Regions from separate parts of the Homo sapiens genome. Here region 1 is linked to region 2. Evidence: promoter capture Hi-C in human tissues and cell types (Jung and others, 2019). All regions are on one chromosome and are shown on one strand. The core of a region is centred on a gene start or on the middle of the fragment in contact, and the rest is flanking DNA. Distances in the headings are between cores, read along the strand shown. Region 1 holds the start of LOC124902716 (a long non-coding RNA gene). Region 2 holds the start of OR2AT4 (olfactory receptor family 2 subfamily AT member 4).

Evidence for each region. Contacts are between HindIII fragments. The study calls those that stand out against the background at their distance.
Region 1: a contact is called between a fragment that was not itself captured here and the fragment with the promoter of OR2AT4 in region 2, in 2 of the 25 tissues and cell types used here (IMR-90 fibroblasts and lymphoblastoid cells).

What each region holds. Positions count from the first base shown.
Region 1 is chr11:75,205,322-75,212,109 of GRCh38, forward strand. TPBGL-AS1 (TPBGL antisense RNA 1) reads right to left here. Exons shown (of 6, transcript XR_950308.4): 5 at 5,041-5,086; 6 at 717-2,812. It overlaps LOC124902716 (a long non-coding RNA gene), which reads left to right and starts at 5,502. Exons shown (of 2, transcript XR_007062782.1): 1 at 5,502-5,687. SLCO2B1 (solute carrier organic anion transporter family member 2B1) reads left to right here. Exons shown (of 14, transcript NM_007256.5): 14 at 1-1,228. The HindIII fragment of the contact is 3,195 bases long and covers 3,703-6,788 here.
Region 2 is chr11:75,093,077-75,100,747 of GRCh38, forward strand. It overlaps OR2AT4 (olfactory receptor family 2 subfamily AT member 4), which reads right to left and starts at 3,800. Exons shown (of 2, transcript NM_001405852.1): 1 at 3,752-3,800. It also overlaps the pseudogene LOC100421207. RefSeq lists a cis regulatory region at 3,659-4,174 and enhancers at 6,784-7,671, 7,259-7,328, 7,599-7,668. The HindIII fragment of the contact is 12,596 bases long and covers 1-4,592 here.

The DNA of each region.
Region 1 (6,788 bases), core at 4,050-6,549, 110 kb after region 2:
GGGTGAGGCCCAACACCTGCCTTAGGGCCCTGGGTGGGCAAGTCTGGGCCCTGGGGTAGGGAGGGAGACTCAGGCCCACACTTGGGTATTTTCTAATTTCAGACAAACACACACTCAGCGCGCACTCACTGATTCCTACACATTGCCAAGATTTCACACATGTGACCAGGGGCCACCAAAGTCCCTGTGACCTTTGTGACTAGGATCCTAATTTCTCTATTTTCTCCTGGGTGCCTGGGTCTGTGTCACCTGGGGCAGTGTGGATAATGTTTAGTTCTGTGACACTGTTTTTTGGGGGTGGCACCTGGTTCTCCGATGCCTGGGCTGGTGTCAGGCCCAGGACTGTAGTGCTGGGAGCAGTAAAGCTCAGCTCTGTGTAATGAGTGATGCTATGGCTTGCTCGTGTCTTATGATCCAATCCTTTTCTACATCAGCCCTTGTTTTGTTTTATGGCTAGTCTTATCTGGCCTGGTTATTTCCTTGCGGGGAGGAGAGGGTTTGCTAATCTGCTCCCAGCCCAACCTATTACCACCCCACCTCGCTGGGACCTACTGCTCGGGAGGCAGCAGACAGGGAGCCACCAGCAGTGGCTTCCTGGCCCTGTGCTGGGGGTGGGGGGAAGCTGGGGGCACATGTGGCCCTTGCCTTCTGAGCAGCTCCCAGTGCCAGGGCTTTGAGACTTTCCCACATGATAAAAGAAAAGGGAGGTACAGAAGTTCCAATTCCCTTTTTATTTTGCTGGTTGGTATCTGTAAATGTTTAATAAATATCTGAGCATGTATCTATCAACGCCAAGAATTTCAAAGTCTCCTTCAACAATATGAGGCTTTTAGGATGTTTATATTCCTTCATCCCTCTTGTTTCCCAGGTTTTGCAGGGAAAAAAAGTCTGGAATTATAGATACAGCTTATTATTAAATTTGTTCTTGCATAATGTCTCTTCTATTACAAAAATTCTTTCTTCATAAACTGCATTAGAGGTTTGCAACAACCACATCATTTCCATTAACTTAGATTTAGGTTTTACTGGATTCATTGCTCACCATTATTGCTTGTATATTACATCTTTTCCAATCTTTATATTCTGGTCTAATTTTTGTTTGAGTGTCTTCGTCTACTAATGGTTTCAAAAATGGAATAAGGTCATGAGGATTTCTGAATCCTCACCTGTCCAAATTGTCATTCACATTTTATAGAAGAGGAAACTGGCTCAGAAAGCACAAGTGACTTCCCCAAGATCACACAGAAAATAAATGATGGAGCCAAGGTTGGATGTGTAGACCTTGTGGGAACTGAAGGTTTTATAATTTGAGGAGCCCTCTTTAAGAAAAATATACAAAATTATGAATATAAAATTAGGTACAAGGTACCTATATTTACCTATAATGAGAAAAGAAATCAAAACAGATACATCACACAATCCCCCCAAAATGCGTAATACTTTTATTAACTGCCCTGCTTAACCTCTGAGACACATTTTCTCCCCCTGATGATTAGAAGAATTTTCCACAGACTAGCTTCTGGCTCTGTACATTTCAAACCTGGTTTCTCCTGTTTCTTGTCTACTGCCCATATACTTCCTGGGCTGGGTGCCATGACACACATTCATATCACGATATGACCTCTGCATATGGCAACTTAATATCACCATGCCAAGTGAGCTGGGCAGTGGGTAGAATTCCTAGAAGCTATTCTCTACACAGAGATTACTAGCAATGATTTATCTATACACAGAGAACCACATAAATATTAATATATCCTCTGTTTCAGAAAACCACATAAACATATCCCAGTGAACCCAACTCAAATCAGTCCCCCACTCAGCTTCCCCTTGGTCAGATCCCAGAAGTGCCCATGGCCACTCCAATTATCCCACATAAAGGAAAATTGAAACACAAGGGAAGTTGGAGTGGGAAGAAAATAGTAATTTTGATTGTGGTTAAAGTATCTTACCTTTGCAAATTTTATAAAAATATGACAACGTGAACACATCGCTGAGGCCCTCCCTGGATCTGGGGAGAGTCCTGGATGCTCAAGCTGCATTCACATCACGGTGAGTCCGCCTCTTGGTTGAGCCAAGATCTGAAGGAAAAGACGAGGTCCTTGTGCCTAAAGTCTTCCAAACTGGACATGGTGAGGAGACTCAGGAGTTACCCAAGAGAGAAATGGGTCAAGAGCCAAGGGGTGGAGCAAGTCAGGGCCAGAGGGGTTTTCCAGGCCCTGTGGGGGTCCCAGGGAAGTCCTCTCCCCTAATATAGCCTCTGGTCAATGAAGAGCCACAAGCATTTGCATCTGCAAGCTTACTTTCTTACACTGTACCAGGAAGCTGGGAGGAGAAGACATTAAGTCTCCCTGCTAGATTGTGCTGGTGTAAAGTCAGCAGAGGACAGGACTCAGACCAGAACTGACATCCTGATGCCTAGGTTTCTTTTCTTGTAGACTCTGGGAAGGTCTGGGATGCTAGATGCTGGGAAGTTCTAGGGTAGGCAGATGACCCATCAGGAGCTGGCATCCAGGGGTCATGACTGACATGCAGATAAGTGAAAGAGAACTCAGCGACATCCTCACCATTGCCTGGAGGTGTTGAATTCTTTCCCCTTCACATACCTTTGCTTATGCTGTTCCCTCTGACCTGGGTTATCTTCTTCATCCCCATCGCACAGCTTGTCTCTCCATCCCCACTTCATAAAGTCCTACCCAATCTTCCAGGCCCAGCTCAAAGGCCACCAACTCCAGGAAGGCAACATGGTATAGGCAATGGGGGGCAAGTGAAAACCACCTCTGGGGATCCAATCAAAGGCATAGACTCTCCACTAAATATAAAACAAAACACACACACAGAGACATATACACAATTGTGCATATGATTTCAGAGGTTGAAGACCATATGATGCCTGGGTGTAGACCTCCTAAGCATCCCAGGTCCCCAGTCAAAAGCCCTTAATGGAGTGAAAAGATTATAGAGTTGTGGAGAGAGTCAGACTTGGGATCAAATCTTGACTCTGCCACTTATTACAGTGTGACGATGAACAAATGATTTAACCTCTCTGCACCTCAGTTTGCTCACCTGCAAGTGAGGTTGAGCATGCCTAGCTCCTATCTCCCAGAAGCTGTGAGGACCGGGTAAGATCATGTACATGCTCACAGGCACCACACCTGATGATCAGGATTTGTAAGCTCCCTTCCCCTTCTGTCCCTGAAAAAATTTCATAAACACATAGAGCATCAGAGTCGGAGGGGGAAGTGACAACAGAGGGAGGAACACACCTCCTTTGCCCTACCCTGGCCACAGCTCCGTTGTCCCCAATCTCTCCTCCACTGTCAGCCAGGGCTCAGCCAGCCCAGTCTTATCTCTCCCCACAGCCAGCTTGGGACAGCTTTTCTCAACCAGATTTACATTTTTATTGATTTTCTTTCTCCCTCCTAGAGCAGTCCCTCCCTTCTACTTCCCCTTTGGCTATCAAATGGGCTTACCCTGGGAAACAGCAGTTCTAGGGCTGGCCAAGAAGTGATGGTTCAAGGTTGGATTCATTCACCCTTCCTTCCTTCATTCATTCAGCCACTCACATGAGCAACACATATCCTACATGTCTGCTCTGTGCCCTTCTCCTGGCATTGCTGGGGACACAACCATGTGTCAGATACAGTCTCTACTCAGGAAACTCTCAGTGTAAACAGACGACAAACAGTAACAAAAGCATGAGTAGTCATACAGGAGAGGGAAGAAGAGGAAGCCAAGGACTCTTCCTGGGGCCAATAGGGAAGGCTTCCAAGAGGTTATATCAGACCTGGTGTTAAGGATTAGGCAGGACTTCCTCAAGTGGACAAGGTGGAAATGGGCAGGAAAAACAACAGGACGAGCAAAGATAGAGAGAGGTGTGTCTGAGATACAGTGACAAGAGCAATGTGGCTGGAGGGCACTGCATGTGCAGGGCAATCAGGAGACAGAAGAGAGCAGAGGCTGGAAAGACCAGCAGGGACCAAGCATGGAGACCCAGCTGAAGGTGTGGATGCTTCCCTGAGGGCAAGGAGGAACCCCTGAAGCACTGATTGATGGATTATTCCATTGGCCAGTTATTTTAAGCAGGGAGTGACATGACAAGATTTGCATTTTGGAAAGGCCGCTGGTTGCACCATGGGGGCTTTGAGTGGAAAAGAGAAGCTGAAGGCCAAGAGCTCAGGCAGGGGGCAGGTGCAACAATCAAGAGAAGTAGGAGGACTACAGCCAGGTCAGGAGAGGCATCCTAGAAGTGGGATATCTAAGGTCAGTCTTGAAAGACGAGTGGGAATGCACCAGGAAGAGAAGTTGGGAAGGGTGTCAAGGCAGAAGAAACTGCACAGACAAAGTAGACAGAAACCTCCTGGCAGGCTTGGGGTATTTCCACTAGTTTAGCAGGGCTGCAGCATGGCCTAAGAGAGAAGGCATGGAGAGGGTGAGGCTGAAGAAAGTGGGTTGATGCTCTCAATGCCACTCAGTGTTGTCCACCTCCCGAACCTAGCCCCAGGTGAGAGAGGAGAGGGAGCCCTCACCTCTGTACAGAGGTGGCTGTACAGGTCTGAGCCCTAGGTCAGGGGTGCTCCTTAGTCCAAACACACCTTTTAGTGTTCACTACATTTCACATTTTACACAGTCCCTTTACACCCCGTCCTCATGGTTTCCTGGTGAAGAAGGCAGGAAAGGGATTATTATTGCCATGTAGTAGGTAAAGAAACTGAGGCCCAGAAAAGTGCAGAAACTTGCCCAAGGTCACTCAAGAGCCCAGGTATCCCCCTCCTAAGGCTCCCATGTTGTTGCTAATAAACCTACTTGTCCCTGAATCACATATGTACAATAGATGTAGTAAGTGCTAACTAATGTGGTTGGGATGAAAAAAGGGGGGAGGAGAGAAAACACATCAGAGAAAGAGGTTTCCTTTTTATGTCCCCATTTCCTCAGCCTTCATCCTGCAGCTGGGGACATTCCAGCTGGGAAAACAGAACCCAGGTCCCTCTGCTTTGGAATCCAACAGACAGGAAGGTCAATCCAAGCTCTGCCACTTACCAGGCATGGGAAGTCACTGCACTCATCGGAGCATTGGTTTTCTCATCTGTAAAAGGGATAAATAAGCTTCACCTATCAGAATCGTTGAGAGGATTTAATGTGATAAAGTAGCAATATAGTAATCTACTACTGAGTAATAAATTTTCTGGCTGACACAGTGGCTCAAACCTGTGATCCCAGCCATTTGGGAGACTGAGGCAGGAGGATCACTTGAGCCCCAGAGTTTGAGACCAGCCTGGGCAACACAGTGAGGCCCCATCTCTCCAAAAAATAATAATAATAATAAAAAGAAACTTAGCCAAGGGTGGTAGCACCCACACCTGTAGTTTCAGCTACTTGTAAGGTTTAGGTGGGAGGATTGCTTGAGCCCAGGAAGTCAAGATTGCAGTGAGCAGTGATTGTACTACTGCATTCCAGTCTGGGTAACAGAGCAAGGCCCTGCCTCAAAAAACCCCCCAAAACCAAAAAATAAATTTTCCCAAAGTTTAGCAACTTAAAACAACAAATATTTATTATCTCATAGAATTTCTGAGGGTCAAGAACCCACAGATGGGCTAACTGGAAGGTGCTGGATCTTCATGAGGATTTCTGATGAAGTTGTAGTCAAGCATCAGCCAGGGCTGCAGTCATCAGAAGGCTCAACTGGGGTGAGAGGATCCACTTCCAAGTTCATTCGATGATTGCTGTTGGGCCTCTGTACCTTGTTGGCAGTTGACCAAAAGCTTTGATTCCATGTGCCTTTTATGATCTAATATTGGAAGAAACATACCGTAACTTTTGCCATATTCTCTTGGTCATGTAGACAAACCCTGGTATAATGTGGGAGGGGAATACAAAAAGGCATGAATACCAGGGGGTATGGATCATTGGGAGCCATTTGGAAGCTGGCTACAACAAGCACTCAGACCAGTGCCTGACACACAGTAGGTACTTATTCATTAGTCGCTGCTATAACTCTTGCAATGACCTATCACAGCCTGGTTGAGAAGATAAGATCTGGACATGATAAGGTGAGAAATCTTTGGCAAAGTGAAATGTAACTTGAATTAAACAATGTTCAATTACATTAGAAGAGGGTGTGCCGGACAAGGCCCTGGCAACCAGGGAAGACTTCCTGGCGGAGATGGAGAGGAGGTAGGAGGGCAATCCAGAGAGAAAACAGAAGATGAGTATGGCAGGTTGTATTGGTTGCCTTCCCATGGCAAATGCTCTCTTCTTCATTCTGGTAGCAAGGTGCTCAGCCACAGGGATGATCCAAGGCAGCAATGGAAATGCCTTCCCCTTTGCCAGAAAGTGGTCCAAGAGTAGACATGTGACCTCGTCTTAGTCAATGACATGTTTGGGGATAGTCTGCTGGGAAAGCTTCTCTCCTGGATAAGAGAATGATGTGAAGGGAGAATACCCTTTTTGCTACCATGCCCTTTCTCCCTGCTTGGGAGGACATGGTTCCTGATGGCACTCAGTCATCTTGCAATCACAGGGGTAGTCACCCTCGAGGCTCAGAATGGGAAATGCCTGGGTCATCAAAGACATTGTTGAATCAGCAGACCAATCCTCATTCCAACTTCTTCTGGCCTCATTAAAAAATAAAAAGTTTAAGCCACTCTAAAGCAGGTGACCTCTTCCTTGCATCCTAAATGATTCAGTGAGAAAAGTATCCTGGTTCCCTCTGGGACTATTTTCTTTTTCTGAGGAAGACAGAGGGAAGAGTGGAATGGGAAAGGGCCCAGGCTGGGAGGCAGGCGTCC
Region 2 (7,671 bases), core at 2,550-5,049:
CAACAGAGCAAGACTCTGTCTCAAAAATAAATAAATAAATGTTTTTTGTCATATTACAATAAAAGGAATGGCAAAAGATGCCTTTTGTGAGAGGACTTGCTTCCAGGTTGGAATCTAAGTTAAAGGTGTATTCTACCCAATAGCAGAAACAGAGATTGGAGGATGTCCCTCTGTAAGAGCATGACTTTTCATCTCTCCTATCAGCTACGCTGTTCAGCAGGTGTTTCTGATTAACCATTTCATTATCACTATCCTGTAGTCTTCCCTAGCCCCAGATAAGACAGTACTACAGGAGTCTGAAAACTTGGGAGTCTTGGGAGCCATTGTTGCTAGAGAACAAGTCGTCTTGTGACAAGTGCCCAAAGGCAGAAGACCCCATTCTAGAGGTTGTTCTCCCCCTGTCAAGGAAGAAGAGATGTGTGCTTTTGTCCTCCCACAGAACCGGAGATCTTTAACTGAGGGAGAATATTGACTGCTCTACTCTGTTGGGGATGTCTCTCTGAATAAACAATCCAGGAGGAAGTTCACGTTTATGTTTACATCATTGTCTCTTGACCCTGATGATTCCAAGATGATTACCTGATGATCTGATGATTACCTTCTCTCTGATTTTCCCTATTTTTCTTACCTCTAATAAAATATCTCTCATGCCATTGAATCATAAAAAATTCCAAACCTGGAAATATCCAGGCGGCTTTTCCTTTTCTCTTTTCTTTTTTTTCTTTTTCTTTTTCTTTTTTTTTTTTTTTTTTTTTTTTTTTTTGAGACAGAGTCTTGCTCTGCCACCCAGGCTGGAGTGCAGTGGTACAAGCTCGGCTCACTGCAACCTCTGCCCTCCCGGGTTCAAGTGATTCGTGTGCCTCAGCCTCCTGAGTAGCTGGGATTACAGGCATGTGCCATCATGCCCAGCTAGTTTTTGTATTTTTAGCAGAGACGGGGTTTCACCATGTTGGCTGGGCTTGTCTCGAACTCCTGACCTCAAGTGATCCACCTGCCTCAGCCTCCCAAAGAGCTGGGATTACAGGCGTGAACCACCGCACCCAGCCAGCTTTTTCTTTTAATATAGAAAGGGCAAAAGACAAAAAGATCCAGGGCTTTCCCATACTGTCATGGCCGGCGAGCCACAGAGATAGGACTGGAGCCCAGGCTCTAACCCCCAGAGCAGCATTCTTCTATCGTCGGTTCCCTGGAGAATCTGGAAGCTCAAATTTTCATGAGGGGAGAGACTGGGGCAAAGGTTTTCTCTTTCCTTCTCCATATATTTGGCTGATATTGTCAGCAGCAAACTACAAATTTCAGAGTTTGTTCTTTAGTTTCCTAAGTGTGGGGTGGGCTGGTTTTCTGTCAGAGAGTGAAGGCAGGTATAATGTCTTTCTAAAAGACATATGAGGCAGGGCACAGGGGTTCACACCTGTAATCCCAGAACTTTGGGAGACCAAGGTGGGAGAATTGCTTGAGACCAGGAGTTTGAGGCCAGCCTGGGCAACATAGCAAGACCCTGTCTCTACAAAAAAATTTTAAAACTAGCCAAGTACAGTGGCTTGTGCCTGTGGTCTCACTACTCAGAAGGCTGAGGCAGGAGGATCACTTGAGCCCAGGAGTTCAAGACTGCAGTGAGCTATAATCATGCCACTGCACCCCAGCCTGGGCAACAGAGGGAGACCCTGTCTTTTAAACAAAACAAATAAACAAAAAGACACATGGGACAGACCACTCCATTGTGAATGCTCCCTTGAAAGAGTATTCTACAGTTCGGCCCCAATTACACAAGCAGGAAAGCAAAACTGCTGCACCTCCACTTAAGAGATAACCCTCAGTTAACAGACCCAACCTGCCTAAGCAAATCACCAGGTTTTTCTAATACCCAAAGAGATGCAAACTACCTTATTCTGAACGTTGTTACAGCTCAGAGAAGTCAATTATGGATTGAATGCCACCGAGTTAGGCTGAATTGGGGTTTGAGGGGAGAAATTCAGAGCCGTCAAGCCTGACTGAGCCTCTCTTCCCACCTCCTCCCTCACTTCTATTAAACAGCAGGGAGACAGATGCTGAGTCTGAAGTCCAGAAATAGTGTCTTTTCAAGGTCAACCAACAAATTCATAGCAGAAGTAGGTTTTAAAGCCGGTGTCCTGGCTCCCACCCAGTCTTTGTAGGATGTTTCATGAGAGAGGATGATTCCTTAGCCTGCTATTCAAAGCCTGTCTTCTTGCAGCCTTGTTTCTCCTTATTCTAGTCAAATGGCAACTCCTTGCTCTTGCCTTGTGCTTCTGCCAAATTCAGCTCAAATATTACTTCCTCCAAGAGATCTTCTATGGTCCTGGCTGGCTCAGGAGCCTCTTTCCTGGGCTCTTGAAGTTCCTGTGCTTCTGTTTGTCATTATTATGATTACACCAGGTTGTCTCTGTCTATTTATGTGTCCACCACACCAGGAGCACTTTCAGAGCAGTAATGGGGTCTGATCGTTTCTATTTGATACTGCACCATCCTTCCCAGGAGCTTAGTGCTCTGGAATGCAGCTTTCCAACTTGCCTTGTTTTGCTGATAAATCATCAAATAGGAATGAAGGGGCCATTAGTGATTAAATAGTTTTCACCTAACCTCTTTTTTTTTTTTTTTTTTGAGATTGAGTCTTGCTCTATCACCCAGGCTGGAGTGCAGTGGCACGATCTCGGCTCACTGCAACCTCTGCCTCCCGGGTTCAAGCGATTCTCATGCCTCAACCTCCCGAGTAGCTGGGATTACAGGCGCTTGCCACCATGTCCGGCTAATTTTTGTATTTTTAGTAGAGATGGTGTTTCACCATGTTGGCCAGGCTGGTCTTGAAGTCCTGATCTCAAGTGATCTGCCCGCCTCGGCCTCCCAAAGTGCTGGCATTTCACCTAACCTCTTTATTATATAGATGGGGACAGAAAAGGGAGTCCCAGAAATGGGCTGTGACTTTCCCAAGGTCACACAGTAAGTGGGTGATAGAACTAGAACTAGACTGTCAACAGAGCTAGATTATCAACTCACCTTGAGCTCTCCTGGACCAGCTCTGCCACTCTCTTGCTGTGATGCTGGGTCTCTGAGCCTCAGTTTTCCCATCTATAAAATGAGGACTTTGGAAGCAATGATCTCCAGCTTGATAAATATTTTGAGTATCTACTCTGTGTTTAGATAAATGAGAGATTCGAAGACAGATGTGTCATGGCCTCAGCCTCTTAGGAAGGAGAGCAAGGGCGCTCTCATTTGTTAAGCTTCTGTTGCCTGCTTGATTCTTTACAGTCATTACACATCATTACGACGCCCAAACTCATGCAGTTCTCTCATGATATTCTCACCATCCTGCACTGTTTCCATAGAAAAGGAGCAGGATATACGTGAAGCACAGAATCTAGGTCTATTAACTTTGCAGTTAGAAAGGCCTGAGTTTCCTTCCTGGCTCCACCACTTTGTGCTTTCCTCCAATGGACTGCAATTCCCTCACAAATTATTCCCATTTCTCTTATCGTCATCAGCTTTGCCTCCTTGTGAGGAATTCTCTTCCAAGATCATTAGCCTCTTGCTTGTGACTGCACAGCCCTGCCCCTGCCTGCGAGGGTGTCTGGTCTACACTCACCCAGGCTGACTGCGTGGTTGACTTGGATCCTGGGACCCTGACATTCCCAGGATCTTTACTGTGGTTGTACATGCCCCCAACCTCCCTGAGCCTATCTCCCCATCCCAGTCTCTGCCTGCTCTGCGCACTCCATCCCCAGCCCAGCTCACCTACCAATCCTGGTCCGCCTTGATGTCTTGTGTAGAGTCGTCACAGTTGGCCTTGGTTGGGAAGAGCCAGGTAGAAACTCAACCATGGCCCTTTAAACCCTCGGGCCCCTCTCTGCAACCAGGCCTGCTGGGGCTCTCTCCCCACAAGAAGGCTCACCCGTGGGACCAGATAACTGCCAGTCAGCTGAGAACAACTTCCGAGGGTGGAGTGGGGGACTTTGTTCTGGGCTTTGCTGATAATGAAAACAACATCATTAACAACCCTCATGGGTCCCAGAACTTTATCACCAGTATTATTCCTGTTTTCCCATCTGGTCCTCACAATAGCCAGGGAAGACAGGCAGAGTCAGGATTATTTCCACTATTTTACATTTGAGGAAACTGAGATCTAGAGAAGTGAGGTGACTTGCCCAAGGTCATATGAGTGGCTGGTGGCAGAGCTGGGATTTGTACCCAAGGCTCCAATTCTGGTTCAGTGGTTCAGCAACATGTTATCTAATGACTAAGACCCGAGTTATTCCCAGTAATATGACTTTGAACAAATCCCTTAACCTCACTGGGTCTTCATTTTGTCATCTGTGGAATGGGTATAACGACACTAACTCTCTCACAGGATAACTGGGCAGGTTGAGGTGCTTCACCCAGTTCCTGCCACTTATTAGGCATTCAATAAGTGGGAGCTATTATTTTAATGGACCAAAGCAGTAAAGCCTTGTTCAATGAGTATGTGATACTTCCGCTGCTGTGCAATGAGAACTTGCAAAGGTTTTGTGGAAAGAATGTGAGGGTGGAAGTCTCTGCCCCAACCCCATACAGGACAAAGTCAAGAGTCACAGACTCTTCCTGCCTCAATCTTTCTGATTCTCTCCTTTGGCTCCAGTGTTCTGTTTCTGACTTGACTGACTTGGTCACTCCTACTAATACTCATAAAATTTTAATTTTTTTTTAATTTCACAAGTAATAAACAGAACCTCATTGTAGAACATTTTAATCAATACAGAGCTTTACTGAGTCAAAAGTGAAAGTTCTAGGCCGGGTGTGGTGGCTCACGCCTGTAATCCCAGCACTTTGCCGGGCCGAAGGGGGAGGATCTCTTGAGTCCAGGAGTAAGAGAGCAGCTTGGACAACTGGCAAAACTCTATCTCTACTGAAAAATACAAAAAAATTAGCTGGGCATGGTGGCATGCACCTGTAGTCTCAGTGAGAGGTGACAGCGTGCTGGCAGTCCTCACAGCCCTCGCTCGCTCTCGGTGCCTCCTCTGCCTGGGCTCCCACTTTGGCGGCACTTGAGGAGCCCTTCAGCCCACCGCTGCACTGTGGGAGCCCCTTTCTGGGCTGGCCAAGGCCGGAGCCGGCTCCCTCAGCTTGCAGGGAGGTGTGGAGAGAGAGGCGCGAGTGGGAACCAGGGCTGCGCCTGCGCTTGCAGGCCAGCTGGAGTTCTGGGTGGGCGTGGGCTTGGCGGACCCCACACTCAGAGCAGCCGGCCGGCCCTGCTGTCCCCAGGCAATAAGAGGCTTAGCACCCGGGCCAGCGGCTGTGGAGGGTGTACTGGGTCCCCCAGCAGTGCCAGCCCACTGGCGCTGTGCTCGATTTCTCTCTGGGCCTTAGCTGCCTTCCCGCGGGGCAGGGCTCGGGACCTGCAGCCCGCCATGCCTGAGTCTCCCACCCCCTCCCTGGGCTCCTGTGCGGCCCCCGCCTCCCCGATGAGTGCTGCCCCGTGCTCCACAGCACCCAGTCCCATCGACCACCCAAGGGCCGAGGAGTGTGGGCGCATGGCTCCGGGACTGGCAGGCAGCTCCACCTGCAGCCCCGGTGCGGGACCCACTGGGTGAAGCCAGCTGGGCTCCTGAGTCTGGTGGGGACGTGGAGAACCTTTATGTCTAGCTCAGGGATTGTAAATACACCAATCGGCACTCTGTATCTAACTCAAGGTTTGTAAACACACCAATCAGCACCCTGTGTCTAGCTCAGGGTTTGCGAATGCACCAATGGACACTCTGTATCTAGCTGCTCTGGTGGGGCCTTGGAGAATCTTTGTGTCTAGCTCAGGGATTGTAAACGCACCAATCAGCGCCCTGTCAAAACAGACCACTGGGCTCTACCAATCAGCAGGATGTGGGTGGAGCCAGGTAAGAGAATAAAAGCAGGCTGCGCGAGCCAGCAGTGGCAACCCGCTCAGGTCCCCTTCCACACTATGGAAGCTTTGATCTTTCGCTCTTTGCAATAAACCTTGCTACTGCTCACTCTTTGGGTCCACACTGCTTTTATGAGCTGTAACACTCACCGCGAAGGTCTGCAGCTTCACTCCTGAAGCCAGCGAGACCACAAGCCCACCAGGAGGAACGAACAACTCCAGATGCGCTGCCTTAAGAGATGTAACACCACGAAGGTCTGCAGCTTCACTCCTGAAGCCAGTGAGACCACTAGCCCACCGGGAGAAACGAACAACTCCAGATGCGCCGCCTTAAGAACTGTAACACTCCCCGCGAAGGTCTGCAGCTTCACTCCTGAGCCAGTGAGACCACCAACCCACCAGAAGGAAGAAACTCCCAACACATCCGAACGTCAGAAGGAACAAACTCCAGACGCGCCACCTTAAGAGCTGTAACACTCACCGCGAGGGTCCGTGGCTTCATTCTTGAAGTCAGTGAGACCAAGAACCCACCAATTCCGGACCCATCAGCTACCAGGGAAGCTGAGGCAGGAGAAACACCTGAGCCTGGGAAGTTCAGGCTGCAGTGAGCCACAGCTGTGCCTCTGCACTCTAGCCTTAGCAATGGAGTGAGACCCAGGAAGGAAGGGAGTGGTGGAAGGGGGGAAGGGGGGAAGGGAGGGAAGGGAGTGGGGGAAGGGAGGGAGGGAGGGAAGGGAGTGGGGGAAGGGAGGGAGGGAAGGGAGGAAGGGAGGGAAGGGAGTGGGGGAAGGGAGGGAGGGAGGGAAGGGAGGAAGGGAGGGAAGGGAAGGGAGGGAGGGGAGGGAGAGAAAGAGAGAGAAAGTTTTTTTTCACACCAATTCTTACCCATATTTTTCCTCCAGTCTTAACAATGGAGTGAGATCCTGTCAGAAAGAAAGGAAGGAAGAAAGAAAAGAAAGAAGAGTTAGTTAGTCTTCTTCACACCAATTCTTACCCACATTTTTCCTCCATGCTCCAGAAGTAAACATTATTACTGATTTGGTGTGTTTCTTCCAGACTTTTCTAAGCGCATGTGTTTGTGTATGTGTGTATGGTTTTGCTTTTCTTTTAATGTAAATTGAATCATTCTGTATTTATTGTATAGCATATTTTAATTTAATAAGTCTAGGAATTTTTCTGTGTCTGATCTACTTCATTTTTTTGTATCTGATATTTGGCATTTTGTAGTACAGATACAACATAGTTTGTCTAATAACTCATCTGTTGATGAACATTTAAGTTCTATCTCATTCTTGCTATTATGAAAACTATTATAATTAATTTCCTTTTAACATGCATTTGGGGTCACATGTGCTCAAATATTTCTCGGAGATAGACAGATCCTTAGAAGTAGAACTTCTGGGCCAAGCAGTCAGCACATTTTCAAATGGAATGGGGTGTGCATGTGCAGGGACTATCCCAGCTTCAAACCCAGAAGCTTTGAGGATGCTGAGTCACAGTGATGACTGAGATGACCCTGTTACACCCGGCCTGATGCTTCTGCCCAGGACCAGGGGAAAACCCATGCATGAAGGGTTCATTTCAGCCTGCAGAAGAGACTTCCCTATTAGACCTCTGCAGACTGTAGACTTTCAACTGCAGACTGGGAGGTTACTAAGTCCTTAGCAGCTGAGTACAGAACACGATGGAAATGAAAACATGGTACAACAGAGGTTACAGCCCTCTCCTGACCTGATAAACTTCATGATGGAGCTAAAGATGGTTTGGGAAGTTTCTTTGAATCACAAGCA